2 separate regions of the Homo sapiens genome follow, and region 2 is linked to region 1. Evidence: promoter capture Hi-C in 16 types of primary human blood cells and fetal thymus (Javierre and others, 2016). All regions are on one chromosome and are shown on one strand. The core of a region is centred on a gene start or on the middle of the fragment in contact, and the rest is flanking DNA. Distances in the headings are between cores, read along the strand shown. Region 1 holds the start of C12orf50 (chromosome 12 open reading frame 50). Region 2 overlaps TMTC3 (transmembrane O-mannosyltransferase targeting cadherins 3).

What was found. The method cuts DNA at HindIII sites, captures the fragments that hold promoters and counts their contacts. A CHiCAGO score of 5 or more calls a contact.
Region 2: a fragment that was not itself captured here is called in contact with the fragment with the promoter of C12orf50 in region 1 in 5 of 17 cell types (non-activated CD4 T cells, naive CD4 T cells, total CD4 T cells and 2 more); the score reaches 7.6 in non-activated CD4 T cells.

What each region holds. Positions count from the first base shown.
Region 1 is chr12:88,028,007-88,033,903 of GRCh38, forward strand. It overlaps C12orf50 (chromosome 12 open reading frame 50), which reads right to left and starts at 1,395. Exons shown (of 13, transcript NM_152589.3): 1 at 1,334-1,395. It overlaps LOC107984542 (a long non-coding RNA gene), which reads right to left. Exons shown (of 3, transcript XR_007063395.1): 2 at 5,705-5,897; 3 at 5,087-5,262. The HindIII fragment of the contact is 7,634 bases long and covers 1-5,897 here.
Region 2 is chr12:88,161,548-88,167,444 of GRCh38, forward strand. It overlaps TMTC3 (transmembrane O-mannosyltransferase targeting cadherins 3), which reads left to right. Exons shown (of 14, transcript NM_181783.4): 7 at 4,783-5,035. Among named protein-coding and RNA genes, the nearest start is that of TMTC3, 22 kb to the left of the region's middle. The HindIII fragment of the contact is 2,457 bases long and covers 1,683-4,139 here.

The DNA of each region.
Region 1 (5,897 bases), core at 145-2,644:
AGTTAATACTTAACTCATACTCTCTGTGCTTCAGTTTTCTCATCTGTATACAGGAAATAAAAACTACTTTCCTTACAGGTTAGCTGTAAAAATGATGTGATATAAGGTATTGTGAGCTATTATTATTATTTATTCATTTAATTATTTACTGGTAACTTACTCATTAGCCACTCTGCTAAGTACTTGGGGATACAGCAGTGAAATAGACAAAACACTCTGCCCACCTGGGACATGAAATCTGTTATTATTCTTTATTATCCTAGCATTTAATCTAACAGGTAATAGAAGTGAATCCAATTTCTGTGGTCAGAGAGGTTGACTCCATTCAGGTTTCCTAACAGAGAGGAAACACTTGAAACCAGACATATCATCTTTTTCACTGGATTATTTCTTGCATGAGCACAAAGCTCCAAATATTGAGTTTCTACCTTTATCTGGTTTTACTAAGATCTATACATCCTAATACATTGGAGGAATTCTCAGTTTTTCCCATTTAACTTTATAAAGTTTAATTTATATGTGGCCAATTTGTTTATATTAATTTTCTTTTTTAATGATATTTAAATATTTGTTATTACTTAGACTTTTGACAGAGGAAAATTCAGTAATTGGGTTAATAAATTTCAAATAGGAAAACAGATTTATTACACTAAGATTGACACTTACCTGAATTCAACTATTTGAATTATAATGACTGGAATCATATTAACTAAAACAATATCTTGTAACCTATGATGTTTTAATATTAGGAATTTAATGTCTCAAGGTGTCATAATATAGGCAAAAGTGCCACATGAAGATTCAAAAGCTATAGACATATAACTGGTATATATAAGGGTAGTTTCAAACAAATAATAATTTTAAATTATCTCAGATTTCTTCAGAGAAATTCAGTATGTCAAAAATACATGATAAGCTGTTACTCCAGATTTTACAAATATAAGATATCTTGCAAGAAAATAGTAAATTTTTGTTCAGCAATACAAGTTATTGCCATATCTCCCTTCATTCTACTAAAAAGATTAAGCATGTGAAGTACTGTCAATTGTACAATATTTACCTTTATGCATGTGGAATTAAAAAAGAAATAGCAGTCATTCCCAACTTCTGCCATTTTCAACTCTCTTGCTGCTAATCCAATGGTTTTTTTTTTTTGAAAAATATATATGAATTTCAGGAATGCAAATACAAGAACTATCAGTGTGTAAGGGGGAAAAATAATTTCTTTTCCACAGTCTTTCAGGCTATCAGTAGTATTCCTTTAAAACTGACCTCCTGTTGACAGTATATTACGCAATAGATAATTCTTAAAGACATTTAAATTAGAAGATACCTTCTCTAGCTTTGCAGAAACGCTGAAAGTGGTTGCTAGTAAGCACACAAACTCAAACTTCTAGAATTTTCCTCATTGTTACCTAATCCATTGTTTGCTCATCATAAATGACCTCACATGTAACTGCAGGCCAATGTTCACTCAGGTAAACTACAGTTTACCTGAGTGAACACTGTATTTCCCTTACTCAGTTTTAGCATATTAACTACAAAGGACTAGCAAAAATAAAATAGCATACTTTAATCTTTCAATGTTCTCGTTGAATATGGACTATAAACTAGTTTATACTTTTATAATAGAAAGTGATAAGTATTTCACAAGTAAACAGCTATTTCTAAATCTTCGTTTCTATAGAGGTTTTGGGAATAACACTAAAAATTTGCCATAGGTAAATGAGCTACTCATATTCTAAGATAATAAAAACAATTATTTAAATATGTACTCTCTACTATCCATTGATTTGGGAAAAATCATATTCAAATTGTGATATATTAATAGGTACCTGAAAATATATTGGGCTACTTATTCATCTTGTGGCTATATTCCATTTATTTTTCATCCATCATAAAAAGAGGAATATCTTCTTCCTATAGCAGAAAGTTTCCAGAGTGCTTGAAGGCTTTGAGAATTTGTTGAAAACAAGGGAAATACTCTGATTTCCAGAATGAAACATTTCAATCAGCAGTTATTTATATCTTCCTCTTAGTATCTTTAATCAAATAATTAAAACCCAGCAGAAATTAATAAAAAATATTCCTCATAAATGTATTAGTCCGTTTTCATGCTGCTGATAAAAGCATACCCAACTGGGAAGAAAAAGAGGTTTAATTGGACTTACAGTTCCACATGGCTGGGGAGGCCTCAGAATCATGGCAGGAGGTGAAAGGCACTTCTTACACTGCGGTGGCAAGAGAAAATGAGGAGAAAGTAAAGGTAGAATCCCCTGATAAACTGATCAGATCTTATGAGACTTATTCACTATCATGAGATTAGCATGGGAAAAACCCGTACCCATGATTCAATTACCTCCCCCTGAATCCCTCCCACAACATGTGGGAATTCTGGGAGATACAATTCAAGTTGATATTTGGGTGGAGACAGAGCCAAACCATATCATTCCACCACTTGTCCCTCCAAACTTCATGTCCTCACATTTCAAAACCAATCATGCCTTTCCAATAGTCCCCCAAAGTCTTAACTCATTTCAGTATTAATCCAAAAGTCCACAGTCCAGTGTCTCATCTGAGACAAGGCAAATCCCTTCCACCTATGAGTCTGTAAAATCAAAAACAAGCTAGTTACTTCCTAGATACAATGGGGATACTGGTATTGGGCAAAGCCACTGCAAGTGGGATAAGTTGGCCAAAACAAAGGAGTTACAGGACCCCTGCATGTCCTAATTCCAGCAGGGCAGTCAAATTTTAAAGCTCCAAAATGATGTCCTTTGACTCCAGGTCTCACATCCAGGTCATGTGGATGCAAAAGGTGGGTTCCCATGGTCTTGGGCACTCTGACCCTGTGGCTTTGCAGGGTACAGCCTCCCTCCTGGCTGCTTTCACAGGCTGGCATTAAGTGTCTGTGGCTTTTCCAGGTGCATGGCACAAGCTGTCAGTGGAGCTACCATTCTGGGGTTTGGAGGATGGTGGCTCTCTTCTAAAAGCTCCACTAGGCAGTGCCCCAGGAGGGACTCTGTGTGGGGGCTCCAGCCCACATTTCCCTTCCACACTGCCCTAGCAGGGGTTCTCCATGAGGTCCTTACTTCTGCAGCAAACTTTTACCTAAGCATCCAGGTGTTTCCATACATCTTCTGAAATCTAAGTGGAGGTTTCCAAACCTCAATTCTTGCCTTCTGTGCTCCTGCAGGCTCAACAGCAATGTGGAAGCTGCCAAGGCTTGGGGCCTGCACCCTCTGAAGCCACAGCTCGAGCTCTATGTTGGCCCCTTTCAGTCATGGCTAGATTGGCTGAGACACAGGGCACCAAGTCCCTAGGCTACAGATGGCACGGGGACCCTGGGCCTAGCCCATAAAACCACTTTTTCCTCCTGGGCCTCTGGGCCTGTGATGGGAGGGGCTGCCGTGAAGGTCTCTGACATACCCTGGAGACATTTTCCCCATGGTCTTGGGGATCAACATTAGGCTCCTTGCTACTTATACAAATTTCTGCAGCTGGCTTGAATTTCTCCTCAAAAAATGGGTTTTTCTTTTCTACTGCATCATCAGGCTGCAAATTTCTAAACTTTCATGCTCTGTTTCCCTTTTAAAATGGAATGCTTTTAACAGCACCCAAGTCACCTTTTGAATGCTTTGCTAAGCATTCAATCTTCCAGATTCAGCAATACCAGATACCTGAAATCATCTCTCAGGTACTTTGTTCAAAGTTCCACAAATCTCTAGGGCAGGGGCAAAATGCTGCCAGTCTCTTTGCTAAAATATAACGAGAATCACCTTTGCTCCAGTTCCCAACAAGTTCCTCATCTCTGTCTGAGACCACCTCAGCCTGGACCTTATTGTTCATATCACTATCAGCATTTTTGTCAAAGCCATTCAACAAGTCTCTAGGAGGTTCAAACTTTCTCACATTTTCCTGTCTCTTCTGAGCCCTCCAAACTGTTCCAACCTCTGCCTGTTACCCAGTTCTGAAGTCACTTCCACATTTTTGGGTATCTTTTCAGCAACACCCCACTCTACTAGTACCAATTTACTGTATTAGTCTGCTTTCACACTGCTGATAAAGACTGGGAAGAAAAAGAGGTTTAATTGGACTTACAGTTCCACATGGCTAGAGAGGCCTCAGAATCATGGTGGGAGGTAAAAGGCACTTCTTACATGGTGGCAGCAAGATAAAATGAGGAGGAAGCAGAAGTGGAAACCCCTGAGAAAACTATCAGATCTTGTGAGACTTATTCACTACCATGAGATTAGCATGGGAAAGACCCACCCCCATGATTCAATTACTTCCCCTGGGTCCCTCCCACAACACATAGGAATTCTGGTGGATATGATTCAAGTTGAGATTTGGGTGGGGACACAGCCAAGTCATATCAATAAATAACATAAAAGGTGCCATGAAAATCACACATTACTCTAGATAAAAACGTATTTTTAAATTGTCATGTATGTTTAATTAGAAATGTAAAAGACTAAGACAAATATGAATTCCCACTTCGGTTATGTAAAACAAGCTAAGCTGCTGGGAACTTTTGGAAGACAATGTTTTAGGATAAAAATCTGATATGTAAAATAAAATAAAATATAGAAAAAAGTTTTTAAATGTAAATTGAACATAATTAAAAAAACGAGGTAGTGTGAGAGGTAAATGAAGTAGAGAATAAAGATTTGGCTAAACCCTTGAAAATACTGGCAAAGATACATAGAAAAATATAACTACATTTTGTTTTGCCCTATCTTCTAACTCTAGAACAAAGCACCCATGAAGTAAGCACTTAAGCTACTGGGAGAAACATCCCTAAGAAATATTTTAAGTGTGTTTTGCCTCCAGATAAACACTGTCTACACCTGCGAACTTGTAGCTTCATTGGACTGTTTTCAAATATTCTTACCAAACACTATTATTGCATGTTACATGTAACATCATGATTAAAGTCATTGTGAGAATTCCTGTTTTACAAAGGAGAAAGTCTGAAAAAAAGTGTTTACTTCTTGAAGTTAGGTGCAAACAGCTACATTCCAGTAGACACAGCAAAAACAGGTCAAACTCACATGGGATTTTTTTTTTTTTTTTTTTTTTTTTTTGTCATTGCAGAGCACATAAAATAGATCTGTACATTTTGGTAGTGTTTAGAATGCCTGGAGTCTTACCTTCTCTACCTTTTTAAACTCTCTTTTCTTTTCCTTCTCCCTCAGCCCCTTTTTTCTTTTCCTTATTCTCTTCAGTTCTATTCTTTACTGTTGTGAATTTCATTCTGGTCTTAAAAAAAAAAAAAGCTGTTACGGCCAGGCGTGGTGGCTCACACCTGTAATCCTAGCACTTTGGGAGGCAGAGGTGGGCAGATCATGAGGTCAGGGGTTCAAGACCAGCCTGACCAACATGATGAAACACTGTCTCTACTAAAAAAAATACAAAACCTAGCTGGGCGTGGTGGCACACGCCTGTAATCCCAGCTACTCAGGAGACTGAGGCGGGAGAATCGCTTGAACCCAAGCCGTGGAGATTGCAGTGAGCCAAGATTGAGCCACTGCACTCCAGCTTGGGTGATAGAGCGAGACTCCATCTAAAAAAAAAAAAAAGCTATTACAGCCCTATGAGGATGATTACTCCTGTAATGAAGAATGATGGGAAATTTGTCTCCAGGGCTGGAAGTAGGCCTGAAAATTCTGTAAGTACTTTGTGTTGGCCAAAGCAGGCTCACATTGTGTGTCTTTCATCTTTGATGCTTACTAGAGCACTAACATATTAGTCAGAGAAGAAAGACTTTCTTCTATTTTGTAATCCTGTGACACCACTTTAAGTACAGTGGCTGGTAGCAACTCCTTGGTGACCCTTCAGAATTATGAGAATCGGGCAAAGTTGATGGCTGCTACCCGTCAGAGCAGGAGTCCAGT
Region 2 (5,897 bases), core at 1,661-4,160, 140 kb after region 1:
AATTTGATAATTGATATAGTTTGATGGAAATCTTTCATCTTGATAAAATTGTTTTCTCTTTGTCTCATCTAATCTTTGTTCCTTTTTTCTCTCTTTCCACCTTCCTTTGGATTCTTTTTTTAATATTTCATTTTATCTCCTTGTTGGCTTATTAGCTATAAATCTTTGTTGTTTTAGTGTTGCTTTAGGGATTTTAGAACATCCTCTGCTTATCACAGTTTACCTTCAAGGAATATTCTAATTTCGAATATATATATAAAATAAAAATATCAGTGTATATATAGTATAAATATATGTAATATACATTTTATATATGTAAGAACTTAACTTTTGTGCAGTTTGCATATGTTTTCCTTGAACATACATTGCTTTAAACAATTGTCTTGGAGGAATTTAAATAATAAAAAAGTATTTTACATTAACCATGAGTCACCATTTCCAGTGTTCTTTATTCCTTTGTTGGATAAGATTTTTATCTGGTACTATTTTTCCTTTTACCTGAAGGAATTTCTTTAGCACTTCTGATTAAAAATATCAGGTTTTGAAAGATACCTTCTCTGGGTGGAGAATTCTACACTGGCTTTTTCATTCAGTATTCTGAAAATGTAAATCTACTGTCTTCCGGCTTTTATTGTTTTCAGTGGGAAAACCTCTATCATCCTTATCTCTTTATGCTAATGTATGTTATGTGTATTTTTTCTATGCCTGTTTTTAATATTTCCTGTTTACCATTGTTTCTTATGTATTTATGTTTCTTGTGCTTAGGTAAACTGAGCTTCTTGAAATCTGTAGATTTTAATTTTGTAAAAATTTTGGAAAATGTTTAGCTAGTCTTCAAATATTTTTGCCATCTTTTCTTTTTCCTATTTTTCTTGTATGTCAGTTAAGTATATTTAAGTTTCTTGAAGTTGTTGCACTGATGCTCTGTTTTTTTCCCTCAATCTTTTACCATTTTTAGTTTGGATAGTTTCTTTTGCTATATCAAGTTCACTAATCTTTTTTCTGCAATATCTAATCTACTCTTAATTTCATCTAGTTGTTTCTTACCTCTGAATCTGTTTTCATCTTCAGAAGGAAGTCTGATTTGAGTATTCTTTTATATCTTCTATATCTCTACATGTTCTATTGCTTTAATGTCCTTGCCTACTAATTCTATCATCTGTGTCATTCCTTGGTCAGTTTTTATTGAATAAATTTTCTCTTCATTATAGGTTGTATTTCTCTGCTTCTTTGCATGTCGGGAAATTGTTGAACAGATACCATTTGTGAATTTTACCTTAATGTATTCTATAAATTTTGAGTTTTATTCTGGAATGCATTTAAGTTACTTGGAAAATGTTTTATCTTTCAGTCTTGCTTTTTTTCTTTCTTCTTTTTTTTTTTGAGATTAGAGTTTCGCTTTTGTTGCCCAGGGCTGGAGTGCAATGGCGCAATCTCGGCTCACCGCAACCTCCACCTCCCAGGTTTAAACGATTCTCCTGCCTCAGCCTACTGAGTAGCTGAGACTACAGGCATGCGCCACCACGCCCAGCTGATTTTTGTATTTTTAGTAGAGATAGGGTTTCTCCATATTGGTCAGGCTGATCTTGAACTCCTGACCTGAGGTGATCCGCCCACCTCAGCCTCCCAAAGTGCTGAGATTACAGGCATGAGCCACTGCACCCAGCCCAGTCTTGCTTTTAAGCTTTGTTTTGTGGGACCACAATAGCATTTAGGATAAGACTAATTTCACTTCACTACTGATGCAAGATCTTTTTGACTATTGGATGTGAACTGTAAATTACGAAGATTTCCACACTGTCTGCCGAGGAACTATTCCTGGCTCGGTATATTTGGGAATTTTTAGCTCTAATGCATTCAGGAGGTTTTTGCCTGATTGTATTAGTTTTCTGAAGGCTGCTGTAACAAATAACTACAAACTGAATAGCTTAAAATAACAGAAATTTGTTCCCTCACAGTTCAAGAGGCCAGAAATACCAAATCAGTATGTCAGCACAATTGGTTCCTTCTGGAGGCTCTAAGGAAGAATTTGTTCCATAACTGTCTGCTGGTTTCTGGTGGTTGCTAGCAGTCTTTGGCATTCCTTGGCTTGTAACTCCATCACTTCAATCTACTTTGTCTTCACATTGCCTTCTTTTCCAGTGTATCTCTTTCTTCTCTTTTTATGAGGACCCCAGTCGTTGGATTTAGGGCCCACCCTAACCCAGTGTGACCTCATCTTAACTAATATTGGCAGAAACTATTTTCAAATAACACCACATTCTGAAGTTAGGGTAGACATGAATTTTTTAGAAATATGATTCAACCCACTACACCGACCATGGGTATTTCCTCACATATATGTGCTGATTTGAACTCATCAAAATCAGGCCAGGTGTGGTGGCTCACGCCTGTAATCCCAGCACTTTGAGAGGCTGAGGTGATCACTTGAGGTCAGGAGTTTGAGACCAGCCTGGCCAACATGGGGAAACCTCATCTCTACTAAAAATAGAAAAATTAGCCAGCGTGGTGGTGCACGACTGATCCCACCTACTCGGGAGGCTGAGGCACAAGAATCGTTTGAACCTGGGAGGCAGAGGTTGCAGTGAGCCAAGACTGTGCCATGGCATTCCAGCCTGGGTGACAAAGCAAGACTTTGTCTCAAAAAAAAAAAAAAAAAAAAAAGAACTCATCAATATTGAAAACTGGAGAGAGACCCTCTACAGATGTCTCAGGTTCTCTTTCTCAGCAGCTTTCTTCTGTCTGGATTCTTCCTCACTAATTCTAGCCCCCGCACTCCTAGGGCTCCCAACTTCATACTCTCAATTCAGTATACCACTGGGCTCAGCCTGGGTTCCCTCTTGCTGTTTTACTGACTAAAAACTCTATCCAGGTACTAAACTCTTTCCAGAAAAAGCTCCCCTTATTTGTTTTTCTTCTCTCAGGTATTACAGTCCTTTTTCACCTTATGCTCAGTATGTTTAAAAAAAAATTATACCTCTTATACAGTTTTTTAGTTGTTTAAGGCTAGAAAGCAGAAGATATAGTGAATTTTAAGTCTGCATATCATATTTATCTACTTTAACATTTAGCCTTTTTTCATTTCACCTGACTTGGCTAAAATTTAAAATGAAATTTATACTATTTCCCTGTTCAATTTTAAGTTATTGCCATTACATGCAAGAACTTTTATTTTTAACAAAAGGCCAACATGTTATTCACATTATGTTACATGATCGTGCATTGCTGGCGCTGGGTAGAATAAATTTTATTCAGATAATTTTTAAACCCAAAACTGTGTGATATTTTCACATAACTATCCTCCCTAGCATTTTTTTTTCTTTAAAGAATAATTACTTGTTAATATCCTGGATTTTTATCTCTGAGTCTAGCCGTGCTAAAATGAACTTGTGCAGATATTACAGTATTGGAAATAGAGAAGATTGAATTGTTTATATAAGACTTCGGATTTCCTTCTTAGTTTCATTGGTTTTCTGTTATTCCTTTTAGAGAATTTGAATCAACTATTTTCTATTTCCCTATCTACAGTCTAAAAATATAGTTTATAGGTGTGAATTTATGTATGTGTTAGTAGGTATGAATATGGTGCTTATAGCATATAAATATTTTCCAAATAAAGCATTTCAACATTGTGTATATATGTTTGTGTATGTGTGTATAAATTCTATTACCCTCTGAAGTTGGATTTAATATAATTTGATTTATTTTGACATTAACTCTTTCTTTAAATCAGCTATCCTAAATAAACTGTAATTTTTAAAACTAAATTCCGAATAGTGAATTATAGGCAAAAAGATAACTTTTTATTCAGTTCTGCTGGTTATTTTGAGAATTCAAGTTCAGACTCAAGATTTATTATTTTATCTGAAAAATAATATGTAAGTTGTGAGATTCCGTATGAAAATTTTGAAATGATATTATTTGTTCAAATAGTATTTATTTTTATCAAATATTTGATATGTTTTCAGAAAATCAAGTCAAATAAGTGGCAGTAGTTGATTTTCCTTGGCTTACTCATCTTAAAATGAGAAAATGGGTCTTTTAAGTACTATATATTATAACCAATATAATTTAGAACACAGACTAAACTAATGAAATGTATATATGTTGTGGCCTGGGAAAAGATAAACTATGATATAAGCTTATATTAGTATTTACTAAGAGAGAAAGTAGAACACAAATTCTTACACAGGCCTACACAGTTACTACTTTGTACTAGAAATTTGGTTTTTAGCTTCCTAGGAGTCAAAGAAAAGAGGGAAGGAAGCTAGGTGATATGGTTTTCTCTCTCCATGACAGAAGAAAAATATACGAATTTTTTCCAGGAAGCATAATTTTTAATTAGCATTTAGCTCTAAAAGAAATGTCTCATGTAGGAAAGCATTGGTGAGTGTTTTCAAAAGTGATTCATACAACACATACAACCATAAATCTTATACAACTTTTTGTTACTACTTTTAATCAAAAGGTTTAATGGAACACTTTTGCAGTGTTGTAATATTATAGGATGCATGTCTGAATTATTCTAATAATAAACAGAAATGGATGACCTGCTTGCCTTTCAAACAGTCCTTCATAAATATCACTTCTCTGAAGTAGATGTTTCATAAAGTTTTGATAGTTTGAACTCTAGCAAGAGTCTGAGGTACACATAACATTTGTCTGTGTCTTCTGTTTAATAAGATGATATATAAAATGTTTATTGTTTAGTGTTTTACTTATGTAAATAATTCTGTACTTTAAAAGTTTTATTTGTAATCTTTTTTTTAATCCTTTATACAGGTTTGATAACCCAGCTGCTGTAAGCCCAACTCCTACAAGGCAACTAACTTTTAACTACCTCCTTCCTGTGAATGCTTGGTTGTTATTAAATCCTTCAGAGCTCTGCTGTGATTGGACCATGGGAACAATACCACTTATAGAGTCATTACTAGATATTCGAAATCTGGCCACATTTACTTTCTTTTGTTTTCTGGGGATGTTGGGAGTATTCAGTATCAGATACTCTGGTGATTCCTCCAAGACTGTTTTAATGGTAAGAAACTTTTCTTAACTTCCAAATGATGTTAACATTCAGTTGAATAAGTAAGAAACTACCTTTAATTCAGCAAAAGCATCTTTTTAGAAGCACTCCTTTCTTTGTTCAACGGCATCCCAATTTATAAACGTATTTGAGTTTATCCCAAAATTCTCAGTTAATTTGCAGGCATAATTTGACATATGTTCAGCACATAAAATATTTGTTACCTTTATCCAACTAGATTATACACTTTTTGAAGAAATTGATTATATTGTATATTATTTGTTTTCTTGGCACAGAGAAGAACATCATATAAGATATACAACTAGAAATATAGAGCTTTTCAGTTCTCATGAGCAAGGTGGTTTTTATTACTCCCTTAGATAGCTTTCACTATGTTCGGAGAACTCTGATTATTTGAACAGTTTTTTTTTTTTTTTTTTGGTGGTGGTTTTTCTGTACTGTTTTTCTTCTTATTTTCTTACCCTGTGTCACTTCATACTCATAAGAGTTATGTTTTCTCTCCCTTTTAATTATTGAAGACAGGCTGGGTGCGTTGGTTCTTGCCTGTAATCCCAGCACTTTGAGAGGCCAAGGCAGGTGGATCATTTGAGGCCAGGAGTTTGAGACCAGCCTGGTCAACCTGGTGAAACTCTCGTCTCTACTAAAAATACAAAAATTAGCTGGGTAGCTGGGTGTGGTAGTGGGTGCCTGTAATCCCAGCCACTCAGGAGGCGGAGGCACAAGAATCACTTGAACCAGGGAGGTGGAATTTGCAGTGAGCTGAGATTGCGCCACTGCACTCTAGTCTGGGCGACAGAGCAATACTCTTTCTCAAAAAAACAAAAATAAAAATAAAAGTTTATTGAAGACAATA